5 separate regions of the Homo sapiens genome follow, and all the other regions are linked to region 1. Evidence: promoter capture Hi-C in 16 types of primary human blood cells and fetal thymus (Javierre and others, 2016). All regions are on one chromosome and are shown on one strand. The core of a region is centred on a gene start or on the middle of the fragment in contact, and the rest is flanking DNA. Distances in the headings are between cores, read along the strand shown. Region 1 holds the start of RAD1 (RAD1 checkpoint DNA exonuclease). Region 2 overlaps TARS1 (threonyl-tRNA synthetase 1). Region 3 overlaps NADK2 (NAD kinase 2, mitochondrial). Region 4 overlaps SKP2 (S-phase kinase associated protein 2). Region 5 holds the start of CAPSL (calcyphosine like).

Region 1 (2,835 bases), core at 144-2,643:
TAAAAAGTAAATATTCCCTCCCCCTGCCCCCCAATCTGCAGGTCAGAAAAGAGCACAGAATGTTGCTGTTAATAACGGGGCTAGAATTTACACTTATCTTTCATTCCACAGAGCTCACTTCTTTCTTAGAGCTTGCCATCACACCACACGGGGTCATTTACTTATCACCTACTCCGCGCTAGAGTACTATGCTAAGTGCGGAGGACGCAAAAATTAATGTCAAAGATAATCCTTGTTCACAGTATTCTGTCTAGCTTAAGAAGAGTTCTTAGTTGAATGAAAGCTAATTCTAACAACTTGTGTGCACTTCTTTTGAATAAAAACCATCAACTTATTTGAATTCTTAAGTTTCCTCCTAAACTCCAACATTTCAGGAGGAAGAGGTCACATTCTAGTCATCTTTGCAATCTCAAACCCAAAGGAAGCCTAACTTGGTACAGTGCATGGCACATTCAATGTCTGTTGAATACAAGTAAAGCTCATACTACCTAGTCTATTTTTCAGTATCTCTTGAGTTAATGACCTGGTTAACAAGTCAGAGTCACAGTCCCAAGGGCAACAACTTTTTAAAGGCTCCCCTAACGTACTTCAGGATCCCTGACTGAGAGTGGCTGACTATGGCAGTATATGGGCATACTAATCACTGGAGAAATAATAGCGAGAAATAACCAAGGAAAAGCACTACTCTCCAAAAACATTAAAAAAAAAAAACAACTGAACAACTAGTAAGAAAGAACGCTGGATCTGAGCACCCTGTAAGTCGCTTCCCCGTGGGCCGGGTAAAGGTTTTAAAACCCGCCGCCTCCAGGAAGACGGCCACGTGCACAAGGATTAGCTGCAAACTCCGTGCCCAGTCTGGCCGGGAGAATTGCTAAAACCGACCTACCGTTAACACCCGGGCTACTCTGAAATTAAGCAAGGCTGTAGTCAAGTAAGTAACCCAAGAAAAGGCGCACAGAGCCGCCGCCGCAGGTGTAGCCCGGGGACATCCCCTCCTACCTTGCAAACGGGGCCTGGGATCCGGTCCCTCTCTTCTTCCTCCACCTCCTCTGCTGTGGCGTGCCGCTTAGCTGGCGGCTCCGCATCTATTTCGTTTCTTTTTGGCTTCTTCGCCTGAACTGCAAAGCCTCCACGCCGTTTCCTCTTGGTTGCCGCCATCTTGCCTCGCCGCCCGCGCTCTTGGCCTCCTTTCCGGCGCTGCCGCTCGCTCCTATTTCCGATCTCTATGGTTCGGCGGCTCTAAGCGCTCAGCTCCGCGGTCGTCCTCCAGGTCTGTGCCGCCTCCTTCCGGTCTCGGTGGCGCGGCACGCGCGGCTCTCTAGGCCTCCTTCAGCTCTGTGGTGACGGTGGCCGAGGTGGAGGGCCGGTCTGAAGAGTGGCGGGACTGGCTTCACTTCCTCCGCGGTTCCTCGGAGCCGCCTCGCTCCTCTTCAGGGACTTTGCTGAGAAGGGCTCTCGGGCGTCCAGACCCCACCGCAAAGGTAGGGTTTCCGCACTCGGGGACCCCGAGACTAGTAAGCGATGCTGTCCCGCGGGCGGGCTGGTGAATGGGGTTGTCTGGGACTCTTGGAGGATTATCTGGACACTCCGGGCCCGCCCCGCCATCGCCTGTTTTGTTGGAGGCGGGGCTGGTGGCGCGGGCTGCACAAAACCGACTCCCCGCGGATTTGTAGCTCCTGTTTGGCCGGGAGATACCGTGTCAGTTGCGTGTCTTCATTCTTCACAACTTTTCACGTTATTGTCCTCTTACGGAGACGAGGAAACCGTAGCTTAGATAATTTTCCTCCAGAATTACAAAGATAGTTAAGTGACATAGGTGGGGTTCGGCCTGGTCAGCCGTGTTCAGCCTCCCAGCCCCTTTCCACCTCTCAGCGCAGGTGGAGCTCGCCGGACCTCGCCAGCACTGATGGGAGTTTTACTGTCTAATCCCTTCAGGTGTTTGGCGATCCGCCGAGAAGTTGTTGGCCCCAGGAGCATCCCTCGGGGCCGAATGCGCAGTGGACGATGCCCCTTCTGACCCAACAGATCCAAGACGAGGATGATCAGTACAGCCTTGTGGCCAGCCTTGACAACGTTAGGAATCTCTCCACTATCTTGAAAGCTATTCATTTCCGAGAACATGCCACGTGTTTCGCAACTAAAAATGGTATCAAAGTAACAGTGGAAAATGCAAAGTGTGTGCAAGCAAATGCTTTTATTCAGGTATGGAAGTAGGCGCCTTTAAGCCTGTGCCATAGATACTCTAAATGTAATTTAATGAAATCGGAAGGTTTCAGTAGACAAAATAACTTAATAGTCATAATAACTTGTCAATAGTCATAATAAATAACTTAATAAATAAATAATAGTCTTAAGTTAGAGAACAAAACGTCATTACTTGAATTTTTTTTCTCTCCCGGTAACAAATTCTTTTCCCATCTTGTTTTACAGAGATAATGGTTAGTAATGACTAAAGTTTATTAAACTAGGCTATTGGCTAGGCTACAGTCTTCTTATTGTTTAACTTATTTAATCTTAACAATAGTCCTGTAAGGTAGGTTCTGTTATTATTCCCGTTTTATATATGTGGAAACGAGGCACAATTTTAAGTGATTTGCCAACAGTCCCACAGCTGGTAAGTGGCTGAATTGGGATAAGAACGCTGAATATTTGTTTCCAGAATATATGCTCTTTTTTCCACTGCGATATGCTATTACTAAAGAGTATTTTTTTCCTTTACTGGTTGTAATAGAATTTTTGTTCTTCCAAAGTAATATTTGTGTGGTTCAGATAGGATTGCAAGTTCAACTAAGCGTTTTTTAACACGTAAGTGCACAGCATGATCTCAGGGATAGA
Region 2 (2,835 bases), core at 164-2,663, 1.4 Mb after region 1:
TAGGTCAAAAATAGTTACGCCTGCAGGTTGACCTATTCAGACTTTGCCAAACTCCTCCAAGTTCAATATAAATTGACGTTTTCAGAGTACAAAGTCAATTTTACGGAAACGCTGTTCCTCCTTTTCCATGGAGCCAATCTGGGTAATTTTTTCATTAAAATTCTTCTTCTGCCTGTTTGCTGCGGAACTCTTTGAGCTGCTGTAGCCGCTCGATAGTTTCAGAAATGGTGCGTTCCCCGTGGACCTTATTGTCTCTTGTGCGGATATTAACAGTGCCACTGATTTTCTCTTTTTCACCAACAACTAAAACAAACACACAAAGCTTTGTCAGACTTAATCTAAAGATATGGAAGAATTCACACTGAACATCTGAAAAGAAATGATCCTAGGACCCAAAACCTACCCCATAGCTTCTGATACATTAAAAGGTACAAGTGACCATGTGTTGATATTTAAAAGAAACTCTTTGCAATATCTAAAACTACTGTGCTTATGGAGTCAATCTAGACAACGTAACAACCAAATAATAAAACCCCAAACATCATGAATATCTTTTTTCAAGTAATCCCACATAAGGCATTATCTTGAGAAAGTAATCCAATAGATGTGTTTAAAAGCAATGCGTCTTCATTCTTGTTATAATAGCAAAATATTTTCTCACAGACATCCATGATTTAAGTGAAAAAAAAAAAAACCCAGTATGTATGCATGAGCCTATTTTTATAGTTATTATATATTAAAATATATAATAGAAAAAAAATCAGGACTGGAAGGAACTAAATAAATTCTTGATTACAATTCACTTAAACCTGTCTCAAGGTTTCAGTAGATTTTCCTGAGGTGTGGCAAATTTTCTTTGGTAAGTTTCCATTCTTACCTAAAATGAAGTTATACTGTGCTAACTGTGCATTTCGAATCTTTTTATTCAATGTACAGCCTGGATCCAGATCAATGTCTGCCATGAATTTGGCATCGTGGAATTGTTGTCGTACCTATTGTAACAGAGATACAGAATTTGTCAGATCTAAAATCAGAATTATATTTTGATCTCACATGATTTTACTGAACACAGGGATCAGGACTTCTTGGATGAACTTCCAGGAATTTAAAGCTGGCAAAACTGTCTTAGATAATATTATTCACTGCCATTATTCCCCCCTCAAAAAGGCCAGCTCCTCTTTATTACCTCAGGTCATGTGTATTAAGTAAACAATGTTTTCAGTATTCTTTTCCAAAAAAGCAATAAACTAGATTACAATTTATTAATTTTACATTAACTAGATTAAACTTCCCATTAACCTGATAACATATTAACATGACAAAAAGACCTAAATGAACAATTTTATTTCACTATCATTTCATATGAACCTCAGATTACAGATGTGAAAAATATCACACGATCAACACCTGAAAGAAATGATCTTCAACTGAATAAATCTTAACTTCTGAGTATCAGAAAGTTTTTTTTTTTAATCAGGTTATCAGAGGCATTAGTCCCTTAACTTTAAAATAGAATAATATTTAATAGTCTAAAAGTAATTTAGATTAGAACAAATTAACAATGAGTATAAAAAATGTTTCTGTTCAGCCTGCTATGAGAGTTGGGCATTTTACATTCAAATCACCCCACACGTGGCAGAAAACTGTTTCCTTACAGTGGCCATTAACCCAAAGGAAGAACAGGAAAGTTGGAGGACGCTGGTGTTCCTTCCTCATCTCTGCCATAGAGACAGTACCATTGGGCTTTCACGCAAAGCCATGTGAGCAGTGACGGCCTATCCTCTTTTTGTAGACGCAGAAGTTACACTGTCTACTAGCAGAATCACCATCACAATTCCACCCAGACCTCTTAGAAGGGTCAGAGTTTCTGGAAATCCTGGTCAGAAAGCAGAATGAATTTTTCCAGGAAAACATCTTAAGTACAGCTGAAGGTGAAATAGTAACTATCATACTCTACTTAAGTATCATGAGTAAAACCAGCAATCTCTGGTTGACCTGGGTGACGAAATATTTCTTTCAATTTTTGATTGAAAAAGATTCTAAATGATCTACAACACATTCATTTCTCAAATGCGAGTTATGTGTAAACCAAGGGTTATTTATGTATGTCAAATGTTTATTTCTATAAGGCATACTTTTTGAAACAATCTAAGTGACTTTGCCTATACTGTGCACAAGTCTTAGCATTTTAACTAGATTTTTAAGCCACAGTGATCACGAACCAATTAACCTGTTGACATTTTATTACACCCATTTCAGAAGGGTTGTTACAGAATTTTAGAATGCCAAGATAGGTCTACATCTTCAACTTATAACTACTTTAAAGAATAAGGCATCAGTTTCTTCATTTTTCTCAACATGGGTCCTGTGTGTGCACGTGAGATGGGCAATTCTGCAGTTGGGGAAGTGGCCTGATAATTACAGGGTGTTTAACATGTCTGCTCTATAGTTATTAGGTATCAGGAGTACTGCCCTGTCTTCTCTCCCCGCAAAAGAAAAGCTTACCACCACATAATCTGGAATGCCACCTACCCGCAAAGGGAAATGGGGAAGTCAGTGCTGTCTCCAGTTGAGAACTCAGTTAACCAATACAGAACTTCTTCCTACTGTGTGAGTTTTCACATACAAATAAGACAAAGTGCACTCAACCATGGAACATAACTTTGATTGTCATCATTTGTAACTAAAACTACTGAGTGCAGTAACAGGAATAGTCTGAATGGTTTATCTATTAGATGGTTTAGTGTTCACTTCATTTTTTTTATTTATTTATTTGTTTTTATTTATTTATTTTTTTGAGATGGAGTCTTGCTCTGTCACCCAGGCTGGAGTGCA
Region 3 (2,835 bases), core at 210-2,709, 1.3 Mb before region 1:
GGCCTCAAGAAAATGGGTGGCATCTCAGTTAGGATTAACTCTTGGACCTCTGAACTAGATTACCACTTAATAAAAAAACTTTTAAAATGTAGGGAAAATCAATAAGTCTTAAAAAGTCAAACTACCTAAGTGTACCCGTTCTGAGTGGAGAAATCTCTAATAGGTAAATATTTGTCTATTGCTAGGTAATGCTGTTTGGGATAAGCCAGCTTTGAAGTAAAACTCGTGGGCTGTAGAATACACAGTTTTGTAATTGCCAGGCAGTGGAATAGTTTTTGTTGGTGGTGTTGTCATTACAGTTTTATTGGATAAGTTCCTTACTGATTTGAATTTGTGTTATAGTTTATATAAAGGCCCATACTCAGAATGCAATAGCATTAGTTGTAGACCAGATGAGAGATTATTAACAGGCCAAAGAATACTGGGCTGTGTGAAGCTGTCCTAAAATGGGATTCTGTAATAGGAGTGATAAGATGATAAGTATTATTTGTTATATTGCTGGGGTAGAAAATACTAAGTTATGTGAATCATGTGAATTGGATGGATATAAAAGAAAGTGGCCAAGTGCTTGAGTCTCACCATGGCTGCTGTGTCTATAGTGTCATGGTAACTTGGTTTTTTGTCAAAGCATTCTCTTTTGTTGTCGTGGTGGTGGTTTTTTGATGTAAAACAGGTCTGTTTTAGGCTATTTGTTAAAATGCAAATGGAAGATGAAGGATAGAGTGCCAGTATAATTTTATACCCTGAAGGCTGATGATTTTCTAACTTTGTAGAAATGTAAACAATTACAGGAAATATTTTTTAGTTGATAAGGCATGCACAGAATAGGTTTACAACCTTCAAGCTAGTCAAAGTTTTGACTTTTATTTACCGTTTCATATTGGTTACATTGCTTTATTTTAAAATCTTGTCTTTTTCCCCATTGATTGACCAGTGACTTATTTTGTGATATCAGATTTCTGGTCAAACATTTTACCTCTACTGTCTCATGACCTTTCAAAGGCCAGTAAAACTATTATTACAATTTACTTGCATCATTAAGAGATGTAGCTGTTGGCAAATGTGCAATTGCTATTAACAGGGTCCTTGACACAAATTAGAACTCTAGATGAAACAAAACTGACTTGGAAAGGATTTTGACACCAGAAACATACCTCATTGGTCAAAAAAAGGTTTTATTTAAAGCTCTTTTTCACCTGTCACCAGGGATGGGGAACTGAATAAGGAAAAAAAATTTTAATGTAGAACAAATAAGAAGTCAGCAGTTTCTGCCCTCCTCTCCATCATTCCAGGTCTCACAACTCGGCAACCCTTTTACTGGTTCCTATTTTTAGTTTTGTTTTTTAAAATTCATAATGGGATAGAATAATTTCATTTAACAGTCTGCCGTGTTATTGGATTAAACTAGATGACTTGGAAGGTGTAGCACCTTGGATTTCCCTTTTGTTTTCTGAAGATTTTGTGGCTTAGGTTGTAGCACTTGGGCAGATAATACTTTTGCCACAGGGTATGCAATAAGCGTACCATGGTATACTTTTGTCAGGTGGTATACTTTTGCTACATTGTATGCAATAAGTATATTACATACAATATGATTGTTAATCAAATTAAAGAGCATGATTTGGAGTACTGCCAGAGCTTTCTAACTGAATCCTTGCTCCTCTCAAATCTTCTAGACACAGTTACCAGAGTGTCTATCTAAAGTGAACATCTGGCCCTTTCTCTCTTTTGCTTGGAACTCCACAGAAGCTCCCTGTACCCTTTAGTCACCAAGAGTACTTGTTAAAATGCAGACACCTGAACCTTAGCCCCGCAAGACTCTGACTCAGTTTGTGGAGAATTCCCAGACTTTGGTTTTATGAAGCACACACCTGAAATTAATGACTCCGGCTGAATTCCAGGGATGTGTTTTATCCCTGGTTGGCATGTGGTCCCCAGTTAAACTGAGAAACACAGTTGTGGGCTCAAGTTCATGATCTTTAGAATGGCAGATAAGTCCCTTCATGAACTGGCTATCTCTTGAGCTTCACTTCTGATCACTTCTTGTCTTAAATTTCATATTCTAGCAATTTCAAACTGTGTTAATTTCCATTAGATGTTGTACTGATTTAGTTTAATTTATGGATCAGTAGCACATAAAATGATTCAAAATATAAAAGATACAAAATATTATACAAAGAAGTCTTTCTGTTACTTGTCATTTGTCATTCAGTTTTGTCCCTGGAAGTAACTGTTATCAATTTCTTGTGTTTTCTTCCAGAAGCAACCTATACCTACAAATCAGCACAGTGAAATATTCTTTTTCTTTGCCTCATCTCTTTTTATTCAATGATAATATACTATTTAAGCTATTATGTGCCTTTTTTTTTAGCCTAACAGCATTTGTGGAGATTGTCATAAAGAACATTCCCATTCTTTTTAAAAATAGTATGTATGTTACTTTATTTTGTGTCCTAATTTATCTTCTGCTATTAAACACATTCTGAAATGAATAACATTTGTGTTTATATGCATGTAAATCAAGCTCTAAGACAAATACCTAAAGTTGAAATTGTTGAGTCAAAAGCCTTGTGCATATAAAGTTTTAACAGATTTGGCCAAATTGCTTCCCTTAGAGATTATACAGATTTTTACTTTCACCAGCCCTGTATAAGGGGACTTATTTTTCCATACATAGTTCATTAAATTGTTGGGTCTTTGCCAACCTGGTGGGTGAAAGATGGTATTTCAGGGTGGTTGAATTTGCATCTCTCAGTGTCTATGTGTCTACTTTTGTAGCCTCCTTTGATTTGAATGCTCTTCTTCCTCTATCCAATTCCTGTTTTTTTTTTTTTT
Region 4 (2,835 bases), core at 214-2,713, 1.2 Mb before region 1:
TACCATAATTTCATTATTTACTTACTCATCTCTCTAGACCCCCAGGAGCTCTTGAGAAACAAAAACGCTTTTTTTTTTTTTTTTAACAATTTTTGTATTTTCAGGAACTAGCATAAAATTGATACATTCATCCACTCCCATATTTATAAAATATGTACTATACACTGAGGTCTATTCTAGGTTTTAAGGACACAATGATAAATAAGGCACAATCCTGACCCTTATTCTGCTCAGAGTTTGAGAGATATAGACAAACAGGAAACTTCAATAACCTATCCTGATGGGCTACAGTAGGATTCGGGGTGCTGTGCAGCTTATGGGAATGGCGCAGGGGTTAGGGAAGCCTTTCTGGAGGAAGTGGCCTCTCTTGAAGAATGAGTAGGAGATACACAGTTGTTCAATGAATGCCTGTTCCCCTAGCCTCACGCCCTTCAGGGGACAAAATTAAAGGACTGACTGAGGCCCTGAAAGCTAGGGGTAGAAAGCTGAAGGCAGATCACCCCTGCTGATCTGGGGAGGCAGCTGGAGGTTGTGAGGAGGCTCCTCGACGTGGCAGCTGTTCCATCACTGCCACAAAGTTCCTCCAAAGTCAACATGGGCAGGGGACAAAGGTTCTCAAACCAGGCTCTTGCCCTGCTCCCCAAATTGAAAACAAAGTTGAATGACAGGCTTTTCTCAAGTTTTTCTCCCATTAATCCAACTCTCTCAGACCTCTGCTGCCTCTTACATATCTAGATCAGAATCTAGTAATTGATTGGGCATAACTATATTTAGCTATAAGTATAGTCATCCACTCACGTATTTATTAACCATGTACTATATACACTGAGGTCTGTTCTAGGTTTTGGGCCACAACAATAAGTAAGGTACAATCCTGACCCTTATTCTACTCTGAGTTTGAGAGATACAGACAAACAATTAAACAGGAAATTTCAATAAACTATCCTGATGGGCTACAGCAGGATTCAGGGTGCTGTGCAGCACATGGGAATGGTGCAGAGGTTAAGGAAGCCTTCCTGGAGGAAGTGGCCTCTATGGAAGAGTAAGCTTAACTATACTTCAATAACATACTTAGCTATTTTGAATCTAATATGTTGAGATTTTACTATAATCTGTAAAAATCATACTGACACCATACGCTGGGCCTCCTCAACACATTTGAGGACTACTGGACTGAGAAAGCAGCACAGTTTCTATCAGAATCCTGGCTGTGTTGCCCCAAGTCTGTGAACTTGGGCAAGTTACTTAATCTTTCTGGCCTCAGTTTCTTTACCTGCAGGAAAGGAAATTGACAGATTTATCTTGCAAAATTGTTCAGTGAAGAGTAAATGAGGTACAAGAAAAGATTAAATAATGCAGCAGGGAGTAAAACTTTCTTTTCTATATTCCTCTCCTTTCCCAGTTAAGTCTGGGTATTTTCTTCATGCAATGACCTTTTCAGTGCTGCTCTGAATTTTCACCCATGGGCAGACACTGGACAAGGTCTGCATGGTATGACTTACCAAAACCCCGTATCTGCCCTTTATTTAAGTTTGGGTCCCCCAGAAGCAGATTCTGAAGCTCTGACTTCAAGTAGTTTATTTGGGAAGTGATGCCAGGAAGCACTAGAAAGAGTGGAGAAGACAGAGGTGGAAGGGAAGAAAGCCAACCTGGAGTAGGCTAATAGGCAGGTTATCCCTATGGGCAATTGGGGTTCAAATCTTCTGGGGACTCCAGTAAACCATCTAGAAACTACCCCAGAGCTGTCTCAACCAAGGGCACGAGTGCTGGGGTATTAATCCATCAATTGCTGTTGGTCACTATTTGGGGACTCCCCAGTATTCCTGCCCAGAGAAAGCCCTCAGGCATGGAATCTCATCTACACGTAGGCAAAAGCTTTGGCATGTAAGGGAATGGGGGGCTTCAAGGGGCTATAGATAGGGCACCAACAGAAATTATGGCTGGGGAAAGGAAATTAGAAAAGCTTGCTATGAAGTACAGGGCAGGAGAAATAAATTAACAAACTTGGTGCTTTCTATTAGGAAGACATAAGAAATCAGGACCAATTAAAAGAGCAGTAGCAGCCAGGTAATTAAAGTGCTAGAGGAAAATCTGGCATAGTGATGAATGCAGAGGTCAGTAGACCTAACCAATGAAGACTGCATGTGAGACTCCAAAGTCTGGAGGACTTTGTGTTGCAACTTCCATCTTTGCCTTCCCAACTCCTCCAGATTTCAGCTTAAATGGCACCTGCTCAAAGAAGCATTCCCACCCAGGATACCACCACAGGCCCCATGCCCAGATTTGCACATCCATTACCTAACAATGCCTGGCACATAACAGGACTCTATAAATATTTGCCAAATGTATTTATTAGCCCTCTTCATTCAAATGGTGAATGTGCTAATTCTTTATTAGTGTGAATGGCTAACCCTTATTAACCAATTAACGACTATGTGCACAGCACTGTTGGCATATGGAGGGGATGAGGCTGAAGACAAAAACCCAGAGCAGAAGGGAATGTCCTCTATCAGTATAGCTGTAGTCTCTGGGAGATGGGGGCTGGGGCTTCAAGAAAACATGCAACTATGATAAAAGAGACAAGGTCACACAATCAGTAAGTGGCAGAGGGGGAATTTAAACTCAGGTCTGATTTCAAATCATGCCCTTTCCATCCTAGTGGGTTCTAATATTCTATGCTCTCCTCTGTTGTAAGTACAAATTTTGAAAAGGTGAGAATTAAACCCGGACTTGCTATGGAAACAGAAATCAATCAGGGCTAGGGAGTGAGTGGAGGAGGAGAGAGAAAATAAAACAAAGATGCTATCAATGGGTTCACCACCAAATGGAAGGAGC
Region 5 (2,835 bases), core at 163-2,662, 1.0 Mb before region 1:
AGTGGAAACAAGCAAAAGCATTGCTTAAGTACTCCAGAGATTTTGTTCTTTTTACTTTATTTGACACAACCTGGAGGCAGACTATTGAGGGCTTGCACGGTGGCTCCATCATGCTGTCCGTTGTCCCAATTTTCCTGTTTCTTTTTTATCTTTTCTTAAATTATTGCACCAAACTTACTCTCCAGTAGGTGGCTTTCAAGAAATACTTCATATTTAAATGCCCATGCCCTCATATTTGCTTCTGCATTCACAGATGAAATTAAGTTTCTTCTTAAAAGTTTCAAATGCGTGATATCTTGTGGGTTAAACCACTGAAAAGAAAACATTAGACATCTGAGGTTGCCCTGGAAGAACCACAGTTCTAATTGCTTAATTCTGGGACAATTCTTCAGACAATTCAGATAAAAGGATGAAATAGCTACTATGTATACTCCCTGCAGATATAGCAAAGGACCCAAGCCCTTGTCAAATCCATGAAAGAACTTGCCTAGTAGTCTGCAGAGCTGGGTGCCTGGCATCTATTCCGTTTTGTGAGTTCTTATACTGCAAGGATGTTGCACACAGCCAGGATTATGTTATATACAGAGATGTGTGTGTGTGTGTGTGTGTGTGTGTGTGTGTGTGTGTGTGTGTGTGTCAGAGAGAGAGAGAGAAAGAGAGAGGTGTAAGGTCTGAATCACCACTAATTATACCTGCCTGCTCCTGAAAGCAGGACGTGCAGGAGTGGGAATGACAAGGATAGGGTGGATGTCATAGATACACAATGAAAGAGAGCATAGTGTAGATATTTTCCTCCAAATAAGCCACTAGATTTCTTCTTATCTGGCAAAGTAACTGCTAGGGAACATGTGAAAAACATAAGTAAAAAGAAACAAAAAGAGAAAAGAAGAGAAGAAACCAAGGATGAAAACAGCAGAAATGACATCCTCTGCAAATGCAGAGAAGGAGGGAGAACCTTGAATCACCTATAATTACCCCTGCCTGCTCCCAAGAGTTGTGGTTTTAAGTATCACCTGGCAATGAGGCACCCTAGCAGTAAGCTTTCTGGGGACTACAGAAGGACAGGAAGGTGCTGCCTAAAAGAAAGAAGACAATGTGCTGAATACTACCTTACAAAACATGGGAGACAAGTTTTGATGCTGTTCTAGAAACCAAACCATTGCCAGCAAAACTTCTGGCTGGCTTCTCTCCCAGTGCAAATGGCTTGAGCTTTCACAGTCACTGAGATTTCCTAGGCAACAGGAGTGTAAACTTGAGAAAAGGCAGAACCAGAGTAGAGATTGACAGTGAGCTGAGCCAATCAGGCTGTGAATCTGCAGCAGTGATCCCAGGTCCTCCAATTAATACTAAGAGAGTGGACCAGGGCCCCTGAGGAAGACAGGTAAGAGGGAGGAGGCTAAGGTGGCTTGGGAGGGACCAGTTTTCCTAGATGCAGGAGACAGCGTCCATAGTTTCAGTTCGAAGCAACTGGTGGCAAAAGGTTAGCATTTAAGGTAAATCAATGTTTTTATCTATTCTATGATTTAATGTTTTTTTTTTTCTTGGTATGTCTTAGCTGAGAAAAGAAGACAGTAGATGTTACTCTCTAAAAAGAAAATCTAAAAGTCTTTTGAGAGTTCTTGGACTAGAGAAGCCATCACTAGGCTGTCAGTGCAAGAGGAAAGAGCTTGGTACTGGGAAAGATTTTTGTAATCTTTGCAAAAAAAATGCTTAGATAAAAATGCACAAAAATAAATTTCATTCAGTAAAGGGGAAGGAAGTAAACATTACTGAGCAGTCATTAGGTACTAGGTATTTGAGTGTGAAGGGTTTGGGTGAATTGCTCTAACGATCCTGATGACCACTGATAAAACTGAGCTTCAGGGAGGTTCAGCATTTCCAAGTCACAAAGCAATAAAACATTTCAACTTTCATTCAGACCTTGCTTTGTCTGATACTTAAACTTATGCTATTTCTGCTATACACTGACAACTGAGAATCAGAATAAAAATCAGGATGCTTATTAAAGTGTACATACATGGCTTGTTCAAAATTATATCAAATAGTTGATTTGATTCATCAGAGACTTGAGGGGGTCCTTTACGTTCTCATTAAAGGACAACACCAATGACCCAGGCAGCCATCTCTATTGCCTTCAGTCTGGGGAGTATTTAAACCATATTAAGTAGATGAAATTCTTACCTGTTTTTTTTTTTTGACTTATTTTTTCCTCAAATCCTACAACCACAAAAATCTATTTTGTTATTGAAAGTTTTAAATATTGAGATTTGAATTTCAGGCATACATTTGTATTTATATTCTGATAAAAATTACCCAATAGCAATGACAATGATAAATTCTAATAGCAATAAAATAGCCTCCTGCTAAGCCCTGATGATATGGTGATAGTAAATGCAAAGGATACAGCTCTACCTCGTAAGGACCTTATAGTCTGTCTAGCAGGGCAAGTAATTCGAAAACGAATTACATTGTCTTGCAATGTGAATGCTATTTGGACTTCACCACATGATCATGGAAGGATGGGTGGGACTTCTCTGGGCCAACAGGAAAAAGAAGGTGTACCTGCAAGTGTGACTACATGTACAAAGGCACAGAGATACAGAATGCTATGGTGTGTTTGGGGAATGTGAGTGAGTAGAGATGCAGGATAGATTTTGAACGGATGGAGAATTACTAGAAATGGCTGGAGACATAGGAAAGGCCAATGCATGAATTCAATGCTAAGAACTTTCATTTTACCTGTATGCAATGGGGGACCATCAAAGGGTCTTAAACTATATCATGAAGTTCATGTTTTCATTTTCTAAAGATTGCTCAGTCTTTTGAAAGACAAAG

What was found. Contacts are between HindIII fragments. The CHiCAGO score rates a contact against its expected background, and 5 or more counts as called.
Region 2: a fragment that was not itself captured here is called in contact with the fragment with the promoter of RAD1 in region 1 in 1 of 17 cell types (erythroblasts); the score reaches 7.1 in erythroblasts.
Region 3: a contact is called between a fragment that was not itself captured here and the fragment with the promoter of RAD1 in region 1, in 2 of 17 cell types (naive CD8 T cells and monocytes). The highest score is 9.2, in naive CD8 T cells.
Region 4: a fragment that was not itself captured here is called in contact with the fragment with the promoter of RAD1 in region 1 in 1 of 17 cell types (naive CD8 T cells); the score reaches 5.4 in naive CD8 T cells.
Region 5: a contact is called between the fragment with the promoter of CAPSL here and the fragment with the promoter of RAD1 in region 1, in 1 of 17 cell types (naive CD8 T cells). The highest score is 8.9, in naive CD8 T cells.

The regions. Positions count from the first base shown.
Region 1 is chr5:34,914,062-34,916,896 of GRCh38, reverse strand. It overlaps RAD1 (RAD1 checkpoint DNA exonuclease), which reads left to right and starts at 1,393. Exons shown (of 6, transcript NM_002853.4): 1 at 1,393-1,481; 2 at 1,936-2,202. The coding sequence starts at 2,005. BRIX1 (biogenesis of ribosomes BRX1) reads right to left here and starts at 1,186. Exons shown (of 10, transcript NM_018321.4): 1 at 1,000-1,186. The coding sequence starts at 1,158. It also overlaps a transcript of TTC23L not described here. RefSeq lists enhancers at 598-1,203, 778-1,677, 1,698-1,757, 1,204-1,809. The HindIII fragment of the contact is 14,569 bases long and covers 1-2,835 here.
Region 2 is chr5:33,465,028-33,467,862 of GRCh38, reverse strand. TARS1 (threonyl-tRNA synthetase 1) reads right to left here. Exons shown (of 19, transcript NM_152295.5): 18 at 878-992; 19 at 1-303. The coding sequence ends at 155. Among named protein-coding and RNA genes, the nearest start is that of TARS1, 25 kb to the right of the region's middle. The HindIII fragment of the contact is 2,178 bases long and covers 325-2,502 here.
Region 3 is chr5:36,236,874-36,239,708 of GRCh38, reverse strand. All of the region lies in intron 1 of NADK2 (NAD kinase 2, mitochondrial), which reads left to right. Among named protein-coding and RNA genes, the nearest start is that of NADK2, 3.6 kb to the left of the region's middle. The HindIII fragment of the contact is 3,457 bases long and covers 1-2,835 here.
Region 4 is chr5:36,158,542-36,161,376 of GRCh38, reverse strand. The region is part of intron 2 of SKP2 (S-phase kinase associated protein 2); the gene reads right to left. Among named protein-coding and RNA genes, the nearest start is that of SKP2, 7.8 kb to the right of the region's middle. The HindIII fragment of the contact is 828 bases long and covers 1,050-1,877 here.
Region 5 is chr5:35,937,199-35,940,033 of GRCh38, reverse strand. It overlaps CAPSL (calcyphosine like), which reads left to right and starts at 1,412. Exons shown (of 5, transcript NM_001042625.2): 1 at 1,412-1,493. CAPSL-DT (CAPSL divergent transcript) reads right to left here and starts at 1,233. Exons shown (of 2, transcript NR_104630.1): 1 at 1,110-1,233; 2 at 41-311. The HindIII fragment of the contact is 5,426 bases long and covers 1,043-2,835 here.